3 separate regions of the Homo sapiens genome follow, and regions 2 and 3 are each linked to region 1. The links are contacts of gene promoters, found by promoter capture Hi-C in blood cells and fetal thymus (Javierre and others, 2016). All regions are on one chromosome and are shown on one strand. Each heading gives the region's core, a stretch centred on a gene start or on the middle of the fragment in contact. The rest is flanking DNA. Distances are from core to core; before and after follow the strand shown.

The links. The method cuts DNA at HindIII sites, captures the fragments that hold promoters and counts their contacts. A CHiCAGO score of 5 or more calls a contact.
Region 2: the fragment with the promoter of TGFBRAP1 here is called in contact with the fragment with the promoter of GCC2 in region 1 in 1 of 17 cell types (naive CD8 T cells); the score reaches 6.8 in naive CD8 T cells.
Region 3: the fragment with the promoter of MRPS9 here is called in contact with the fragment with the promoter of GCC2 in region 1 in 2 of 17 cell types (non-activated CD4 T cells and fetal thymus); the score reaches 6.8 in non-activated CD4 T cells.

What each region holds. Positions count from the first base shown.
Region 1 is chr2:108,447,759-108,450,458 of GRCh38, forward strand. It overlaps GCC2 (GRIP and coiled-coil domain containing 2), which reads left to right and starts at 1,448. Exons shown (of 23, transcript NM_181453.4): 1 at 1,448-1,522; 2 at 1,875-1,931. The coding sequence starts at 1,517. RefSeq lists enhancers at 388-1,370, 1,275-1,534, 1,371-2,352, 2,438-2,700. The HindIII fragment of the contact is 5,578 bases long and covers 1-2,426 here.
Region 2 is chr2:105,328,312-105,331,011 of GRCh38, forward strand. TGFBRAP1 (transforming growth factor beta receptor associated protein 1) reads right to left here and starts at 1,424. Exons shown (of 12, transcript NM_004257.6): 1 at 1,314-1,424. RefSeq lists a silencer at 1,309-1,738. The HindIII fragment of the contact is 18,854 bases long and covers 1-2,700 here.
Region 3 is chr2:105,036,795-105,039,494 of GRCh38, forward strand. MRPS9 (mitochondrial ribosomal protein S9) reads left to right here and starts at 1,275. Exons shown (of 11, transcript NM_182640.3): 1 at 1,275-1,433. The coding sequence starts at 1,299. MRPS9-AS2 (MRPS9 antisense RNA 2) reads right to left here and starts at 1,702. Exons shown (of 3, transcript NR_110603.1): 1 at 1,660-1,702. RefSeq lists enhancers at 682-891, 912-961, 1,012-1,061, 1,232-1,561, 1,315-2,257. The HindIII fragment of the contact is 6,591 bases long and covers 1-2,700 here.

The DNA.
Region 1 (2,700 bases), core at 198-2,697:
AAAAGAGAGTTCTACTGTGAGAACATCAACTCTTCTGTAGCTATTGATGTAGCCAAACTCCTGGAATGTAACTATATCTAACAGTGTTTCTCTGAGAAACTTTTACAGGATTGGAATGTGTGTAGTATCTAGTTAACCTGCTATTTTATTGCAAGTGATTTTTTCAAGTTATTAATTGAAATAGGAGTCTACCGTAAGTTGCTCTTAACTTGGGGAACTACTTTGAATGGCATTAATCTGGACCATTAATAACAATGTATACTTGGGGATTGTGTGTGTGTGTGTGTATACATGTGTGTGCATATATGTGTGTACACACACGTGCACACACACGTGCGCGCACACGTGCACACACACACGTGCACACACACACGTGTACACACACACGTGTACACACACACGTGTGTTACTGTACGTGGAGACTGTACATCTTAGGTCACACACCACCCCTGAACCAATCCTACAAACACCATAGGTGATACACACTGTCAAAGACAAAGAGTAGATGTCCACAATAGCTGTTCTTTCTCGTTTATAACACTTCTTTTACCTAGTAATAATCAGCTACCATTTACTCGATACATACTGTGTGCTGCCTCTTCAACCTTTTGACCATTTAAACTACAGGAAACTAGGTTATCTTCAGGTTACCTTAGTTATGGGAGTGTATGGAAAACATTAATGGGAAGGTGAAAGCGCAGCAAACCACTTCAGCAGTTAACAGAAAGGCTCTCAGAGCACTGGACCGCCAATCAGGACACAGCAGCAGCTCTGGGATTCGACCACAGATTCTCTGGCGTGCCCTTCGGGAAAGGGTGGCCTCGGGCCCCCTACTCTACAGAGTCTCCTCCCACGGCTGCCCAGTTCCCTGGCCGACTATCTTGCCTCCACCACATCACCATCAGTACCGGGCGGCTGCAGGGCAGAGCTGTCCAGGGACCTCCTCACAGCCTCCAGAGTCAAGAAATGCCTCCTCAGGGAAGCCCTCTACCGCATCCCTGACCTGTGAGTCACGGAGCTCCCGGGCACCATGCTGGCCACAAATGCCTAAGGAGCCCCCCGGAACCAGCTGTGGGTCCCGCAGGCACTCGCAGGCTAGCGGACACCTTTGGAGGACTGAGAGACCTGTCCTGCAATCCAATGTTCCTCACTCTCACAAGATTTTACAGACGTGGAAACCGAGGCCCGAGGCCCCAAGGGGTAATCGGCCCGCCTTCCCATGCCAATAACCGGCAGTGGCGGGACCCACACCTACTCCGTGACCTGCAGGCCCAGGGGTCGAGCCCCAGGTAGAACGTCTAGACGGACTCCGCCCTTAGCGCCGTACGGGGAACCTTCTCCCGGACGCAGACACGGAAGCGGAAGTGCTGCCGAGCTGTAGCTATGGAGACGTGGGGGGCGGGCCGCCCGGAGAGCGCGACCTTTGACCTGCAGTAGAGCCTACGTCAGAGGCTGGCGCAAACAGAAGTGCAGCGGTGGCGGCGGCTGGTTGCGGGCCGGCGGCGGGCTGGCGGAGATGGAGGTAACTCAGGTCGGGCCCACTGCCTCCCATCAAGCCTTCCGCGCCGCGATTTGGGATGTGGGAGTGGGCCCGATGGGAGGGCGCGGTAGTCTCCCTCTTGGTGTCCCGAAGCCCGCGCTGCTGTCGCCTCCCCATCTTTCGTAAACTCTATCCCTGGGGGTTACCTGCCCCGTAGAGCCCGTTTGTGTACGAATTGCCACAGCGACCGCCTCCGTCCGCCCTCATTCTCTGTCTCACGAGGCTTTCCACCACTTGATTCCATAGAAGGTTTTTCCCTGTAAGGGTTCTACGCGTTCCGTGTGGAATTAGGAAAAGAGTTCTTCTGACACCTGGGTTTGATTTTGTTTTGCAGGATCTTGTTCAAGATGGGGTGGCTTCACCAGCTACCCCTGGGACCGGGAAATCTAAGGTGAAGAGAATACTTGAATAGCGGGCTTCCTGAAGAGTGGAAGGGTGATGAATTGGAAAACTTTGGCATGGGGAAGGGGGGGGCGCTGATTTTTTTTTTTTTAATAGCCTTGCTCCAAGGGATCTCAATTTTAGTGTGCGCAATCGCCCATTTCCTGTTTCTCCCCCGCCCACCCCGATATAGAAAGACTTTTTGTTTGCTTCCTGCTCCTGGTTAGCACTGCTGGGAGATCCTGCTATTTTTCGAACATAAAGCAGTCTAAGAAGGTTTATATAGTGGTGTAGTGGAAGGAGCAGTGACATAGGGTAGGAATCAAGGGATTCTGATCTGTGGGCTCCAGTTTCTACATTGCCAAAGAGTTTAATTAGTCCAGTTTTATGGCCCTGTACAATGTTTAACATTCAATCATTCTAAATGATAGTGGTTTATTGCTAAGGTTTATTGTGTGCATGCTAAATTTCTGGCGCTTGCCTAACCACTCAGTTCCTTCGTTTAAGCTTCATGATAACCATGAGATAGGTACTGTTGTTACCCTCCTTTTACAGATGAGAAACCTGAGACCACAGGCTTAAGCAATTTTCTCAAGTGGTAAAGCTCAATTTTTTAATTAAAGCCTGAATGTTACCCGGTTCATCTTGCTGCTGTAATTATGCGTAAATTTTCTTGTGACCAAAGACTTGCAGCCTTGAATAGAATGAAATAATTTTACAGCTCCAAGGAATTTTAAGTAGCATTAGCTCCAACCTACTGATTTTACAATTAAATCAAA
Region 2 (2,700 bases), core at 174-2,673, 3.1 Mb before region 1:
AGATTCCAGCCAGTAGACTTTCTAGTACTCCAGGCAGCGTTTTGCTACACATCACAGAAGCAGCTGCAATGACTGTTGAGGCTGCTCGGCTGGCAGAAATGGAAGGAAAAAGAAAAGGAAGCAGCTGACCAAATGTTCCTTCTGACTGACCATGGAACTGCGAGCTCTCAGTTGTCTGCCAGCTTCCGGCTGACCAACAGAGAGAAGCATGTCCACCATGAGAGAGTAGCAGCCACCACACAGTCCCTCTACATTCGTTCATCCTGACTCCAACCAAGCCAACACACACAACGCAGTAGGATCTTCCCTGCACACCTTCTCAGTGCCTTAACTTGCCACCACAATCACACCCGCAGCTGCCTTCCTTCCTGATAGACAAGGTGCTTGCCCATGAGCACTTCATCAGTGATTAAACTCTGCTCAGACATGTTTTGACCACAGCTGCGCGTGCAGTCCACGTGCAGTAAGGCCTGCTGTGTGATCTGTGAGCCCCCATTTTTAGCAGCCAGGTAGGAGGCTTCCTGAGGGTCACTCAACAGTCCTTGGGTAGAAGCCACGGCAGGTGCAGACAACCGGACAGCTTCCGTGTTTAAGGATATCAACACTTAACACAGGGAGGCAGGCGGACTAACTTGCACCTGCACCTCCAGAAGGCAATGGAAAGAAAACAATTCCACAGGGATGACAGCTTCCAGCCCTTGACCTGGTGCTAAAAACAGGGGCCAGGAAGCCCAGCACAGCACTTTTCCCTACTCCCCAACACACCCCTGCCTACTCTCCAGATCAGGACAATTCAGGCCTGAGTGTGACCCGAATTTGAGCTCTCAAATCCAAAGAGCTCCCAGAAACCTCAATCACAGCGCCAAAACCATTCCATACCAGGGATGGAGGTGCAAGTCCTTCCTGGCCCTTCTCCCCGGAAAACCCAAATCAAGGACGAGGTCTCTCAGGTCTTCCCTTGCCCTAAACACACACGCACTCCTCACACACAACATACACACTTGACCCCACACCCGTGCACACTTCATCCCACACACACGTGAACACTTATTTGCTCACCCCAGCAGGCTAGCCGGCCCCCACAAGGGACAGCTACCAAGTCGCACACCCGCACACCTGCCCCCAAGTGTATAGCCACTTGCTCCCCCCACCCCGCGTTCCAGCCCCCACTACACCTGCCCCAGCGCACACGCACGGGCTCGCCCTCCACCCCGCCCCGCCGCCTACCCCCCACTCCTGCTCCCCGCCCTCCTGCCCCACGCGCCCCGCGCCCTGAGCCCCGCACCCCGCGCCCCGCCGCCCTCCTCACTCACCGGCGCCGGCGCCCGCCGTCCCGCGCCGCCCCGCGGCCTGGGGCCCCGCCGCCCCGCTCCGGCCCGCGGCTCCTGGGCTGGCCCGACCCCGCAGCCGCCGCTTCCCGTCACGTGGGGCGGCCGCCAGGCGCTGGCGGAGGGCGGGAGCGCAGCCGTCTCCGCGCCGCCCGCCGGCCCGCGGGCCCTGCCGCCTGGCTCCGAGCACAGGCCGAGACGGGCCCTGCTCCGGGCCTCGGCGTCCCCCTCCGTGCACCGGGGCCACGACACGGCCCGCCTCGCGGGGCGGCCAGCGGGCGGAAGGTGTTCATTCGGGGGGCGCTGAGGCCGCCGGCCCCGGGCGAGAGCGTGGTCCGCGCCAGCTGTGCGAGCCCGCGGGGCTGAGGTCTCTTCTCCGCCCCCGCCGCTGCGGGGAGCTTCAGGGAAGCCGGGCTTTGCCTGGCTCGCTCGCCACCCAGTTTCTGTCACCTACACAGGAGGAGGGCGCCCGGGAAATACCTGCTGCGTGAATGAATAAATGAATGAAATGCTTGGGCCCTGGGAAATGCTTGGGCCCGCGGCCGCCTGACCACGCGGGCTGGAGGATCGGACGTACCGCCGGTGCCCCACCAGGAGACGAAGGCATGGTTGGGATGCGCAGCCCTCCCACGAGGCCCATGGCGCCCCAGGGCCCTAGGGATTGACCGGGACCCCCGACTGGCAGAGTCCACCTGCTTGATACACTTATTTGAGAAGGGAGGCCTGGGACTATCTTACTCCTTTTAGGAAAACCCAACTGTAGCTGCTATTCCTTTGGTTCAGGCCGCAAGGAAGAATTGTAGGTTACCATGAATCCATGAACCCCTCTTTAGTATACAAAGTCCACTTTCATGACGGAAGAATTGGAAAGCTCCCTCCAGAGTTGTCAGTACTCAATTATTAGCATATAAAAAGTCAAATTTTCCCAGGGATTTTCAGACTTTAGAACCTGCTAGTGACCTGTGGCCTCAGCTTTCTTCCAGCCACTCTGAGTATTGTAAAACAAAGATATTATCCCAACCCTGAAGGCAGATACCAGATTGTACGCCATGGTCTTCTGTTTCAAAGGGATAAAAAAAGAAAGAAAAGAAACTGGCCAAAAAAAAAAAAAAAAAAAAAAAACCCAACAATCTTCCTGTGACTTGCCCTCTACCCCTACCCTAGTGTGACTCATGGCCACATAAATGCCCCATCCCCAGTGGTGCTTCAGCTGTGACCCAGTGGAACCAGTGTCACCGGCTCAGCCTCCAGGTAGGGGACTGGCTTCCCAGGAGTGTAAAGCTCTGACCAGCAATTGAGCTTCAAGGGCAAGCAGCAGTGAATGGACCTTCAAGTCTAAGGTGGCCAACAGCTAGTGGAGCCAGGGATTGGG
Region 3 (2,700 bases), core at 25-2,524, 3.4 Mb before region 1:
AAGAAACATGTTTTGGGGTAAAATATTTTGATTTTCTTCCTTGTCTTGTAATGTTATGCCAGAGTCAGGTTGGAAAGTAAGTCACCATATATAGGGTTAAGTAAAACCCATCTAATAAGAATTTATGATTTGTAGGGCATGACTCCCCAAATCCTGTAGATAGGAATCTTGGGCAAGATAAAAAAATCAGAGTTTAGTCCTCCGACCTCTGCCAATTTCTCAAGATATCTTTTGCTAGTCTAAAAGCTAATAACAAAAAGAACAACAGGATGAGCATTTTATACAAGTAAATGTATTCCATTTAAAAGATTTTTCTTTATTGTGAAATTCTGCCATTCTACCTTTTTAATGCTAAAAAGTTCTGTTTCGTGAAATGATGGTGATAGTAGACGGCATTTATTTGCTTGACAACTTTGTATGATCTCAGATTTTCTGTGTGTTTTACTTTTACTGACCCTTCAAATCTAAGTGTGTGTAAACCCTTTTAAAGTGCGTTACTACATCATTTAGTATGTGTTTCGTAGAAAGCAACCTGGGAGTTAACTGCCAGGAGCACGCAAGTTTCAGAAAGCAAGACATACTCATCTCTATTCAACAATTAATCAGTTCTGATTGGGTTTCAAGTAAGGCTTAGTACCAACGCTTAGGGAGGGGCGTGCAAAAACGAGAAAGGTAGTGTTTGACCTTACCGGTTTAAGGTTTATCCTGTGCATTATACAGTTAAGAAACAACGCAGGAGAGTGCCAGGGAACCGAGAGGGGCTTGACAGTTGCTGCAGGAGAGTCTTGACTTGGAACCAGACGAACGTGGAAAGTTAGAGGAGGGGAAAACCCCTACTAGGATAAGGCAGACAGGAATCAAGGCTTGGAGCGCATCTGGGGCCCCGGCCGCCCTGCCCAGGTGGAGGAAGAGCCGGCTCGAGGTGCAGCAAGGGGGCTGGGAAGGAAGGGCTGGCTAAAGCGCCACGTGGATGTGAGTGCCAAAGAGACTAGGAGAGCGTGGAAGTGAGTCCCGAAGAGACTGAGTTCAGGACGTGAAGAGAAAGAGGCCGAGAAAAACGACCCACCAGCGATCCTTCTTGAGGTCGACACCGAGCAGGGGTGGAGTCGGATACGCCCCGCGGACACCATGCACCCAATCAGCGACGAGCTGTCGCGGATCGCGGGACACGCCCCCTGATCCAAAGGCCCGAGAAGCTCTTGCACAGGACAGCCTCTGGAACCCCGCGCCATTAGCGCCTGCGCCGTCTCTAGGCCCCGCCCCCTCACCCCTCCGGTCCTGGAGCTCCCACAGCTAACATGGCGGCGCCCTGTGTGTCCTACGGCGGAGCAGTTTCGTACCGGCTTCTTCTCTGGGGTAGGGGTAGCCTCGCCCGGAAGCAAGGCCTCTGGAAAACCGCGGCCCCTGAGTTGCAAACAAATGTCAGATCCCAGGTAAGGCCTGGGAAGACTGGAAGCGGCTTACCTCTGCCGCGCGAGGATGTGGAGCCAGCGCGGACACCTTCCCCCAGCGTCTCGCGTGCCTTCAGGCAGGGACTCTAGGATCTTAGGTATTTAGTGGAGGTCTGAGGTTGGGGGGGAGGAGGTGGGTATTGGCGTGCAGTAGCCGCTCTAGAGGTTGTTACTTGTTTTTTTGCGGGGTGCAGCGAGGGGAACTTACCTGAAGGTAGAAGTGGAGCGACCTCCTCCTTCATTTGGCTGCTGAGCTAAGTAAGGGTCGGTGCCTAGGTCTGTGTTGGGTCCAGTCCTACCCTGCCCTGCTGTCTAGGGAGGAGGAGGGCCGCGCCAGAGAAGAATGATGGGAATTGGATTCCTGCAGGTGCCTGGAAGACAATGGAGAAAGTCACGTTGTGTAGAGGACAGTGACTTTTTGAAAGTGCCTTCAATATGCGCAATTTCTGGCTTCTTAATTTTCCCGAATCCCCCTCTATGGAAAGATGCAGGCCAGAACTTGTACGTTTCGTTTAATCCAGGGAGAAGTGGGGAGTCAACAGCTGGATGGCTGATGATGCCAGTTTACTGACATGCGATCTCAGAGCAGGAAAAAGATTTGAGAGGGAAGAAACGAGTTTAGTATGGGATTATGTTTTTAGGCATCTGGGATTTCCAGTAGGTCTACGGATAGTCAAGTGTATAGCTCAGGAGGAGAACTGATTTCGAAATGCCCTGTTACCTTGTAAATGGTAACTGAGGCCTTGTAAACAAATTAAATTACCTAGGGAGAGTGTACTGAGGAGTAGGCAGAGGGACAGGGCCCTGAAGGACAAATAAGAAATAAGAGGCCTCAAGAGATTGAGAATGAGGGACCAAAGAAGCAGGAGAGAAACCAGCCAGTGTGGTGTCATGGAAAACAGGTGAATGTTTCAAGGAGGGAGAGTGATAACAAGTACCAATTATTGCAGGAAAGTCAAATACCATACTTTAAAAACTATATTTAAAAAAAAAAACATCTTTTTGTATGTTCTTTCCTTTATATTTTAATCTAGATCAACCAGTCCATTCTATCTATTCATGTGGACATTTGTTTTTTTTTTTTTTCTTACTGGAAAATGTGCTAGAAATTTTTATTTTTTCATGCATCTCTTTGAGTATATCTTTGCTACATACGCATGATTATGAGAGGGACTATATCATACAGAGTATTTTTATTGTTGACATTTAATGTATGTATTGGGGGATGGCTAACTTTCTGTCCCTCCTG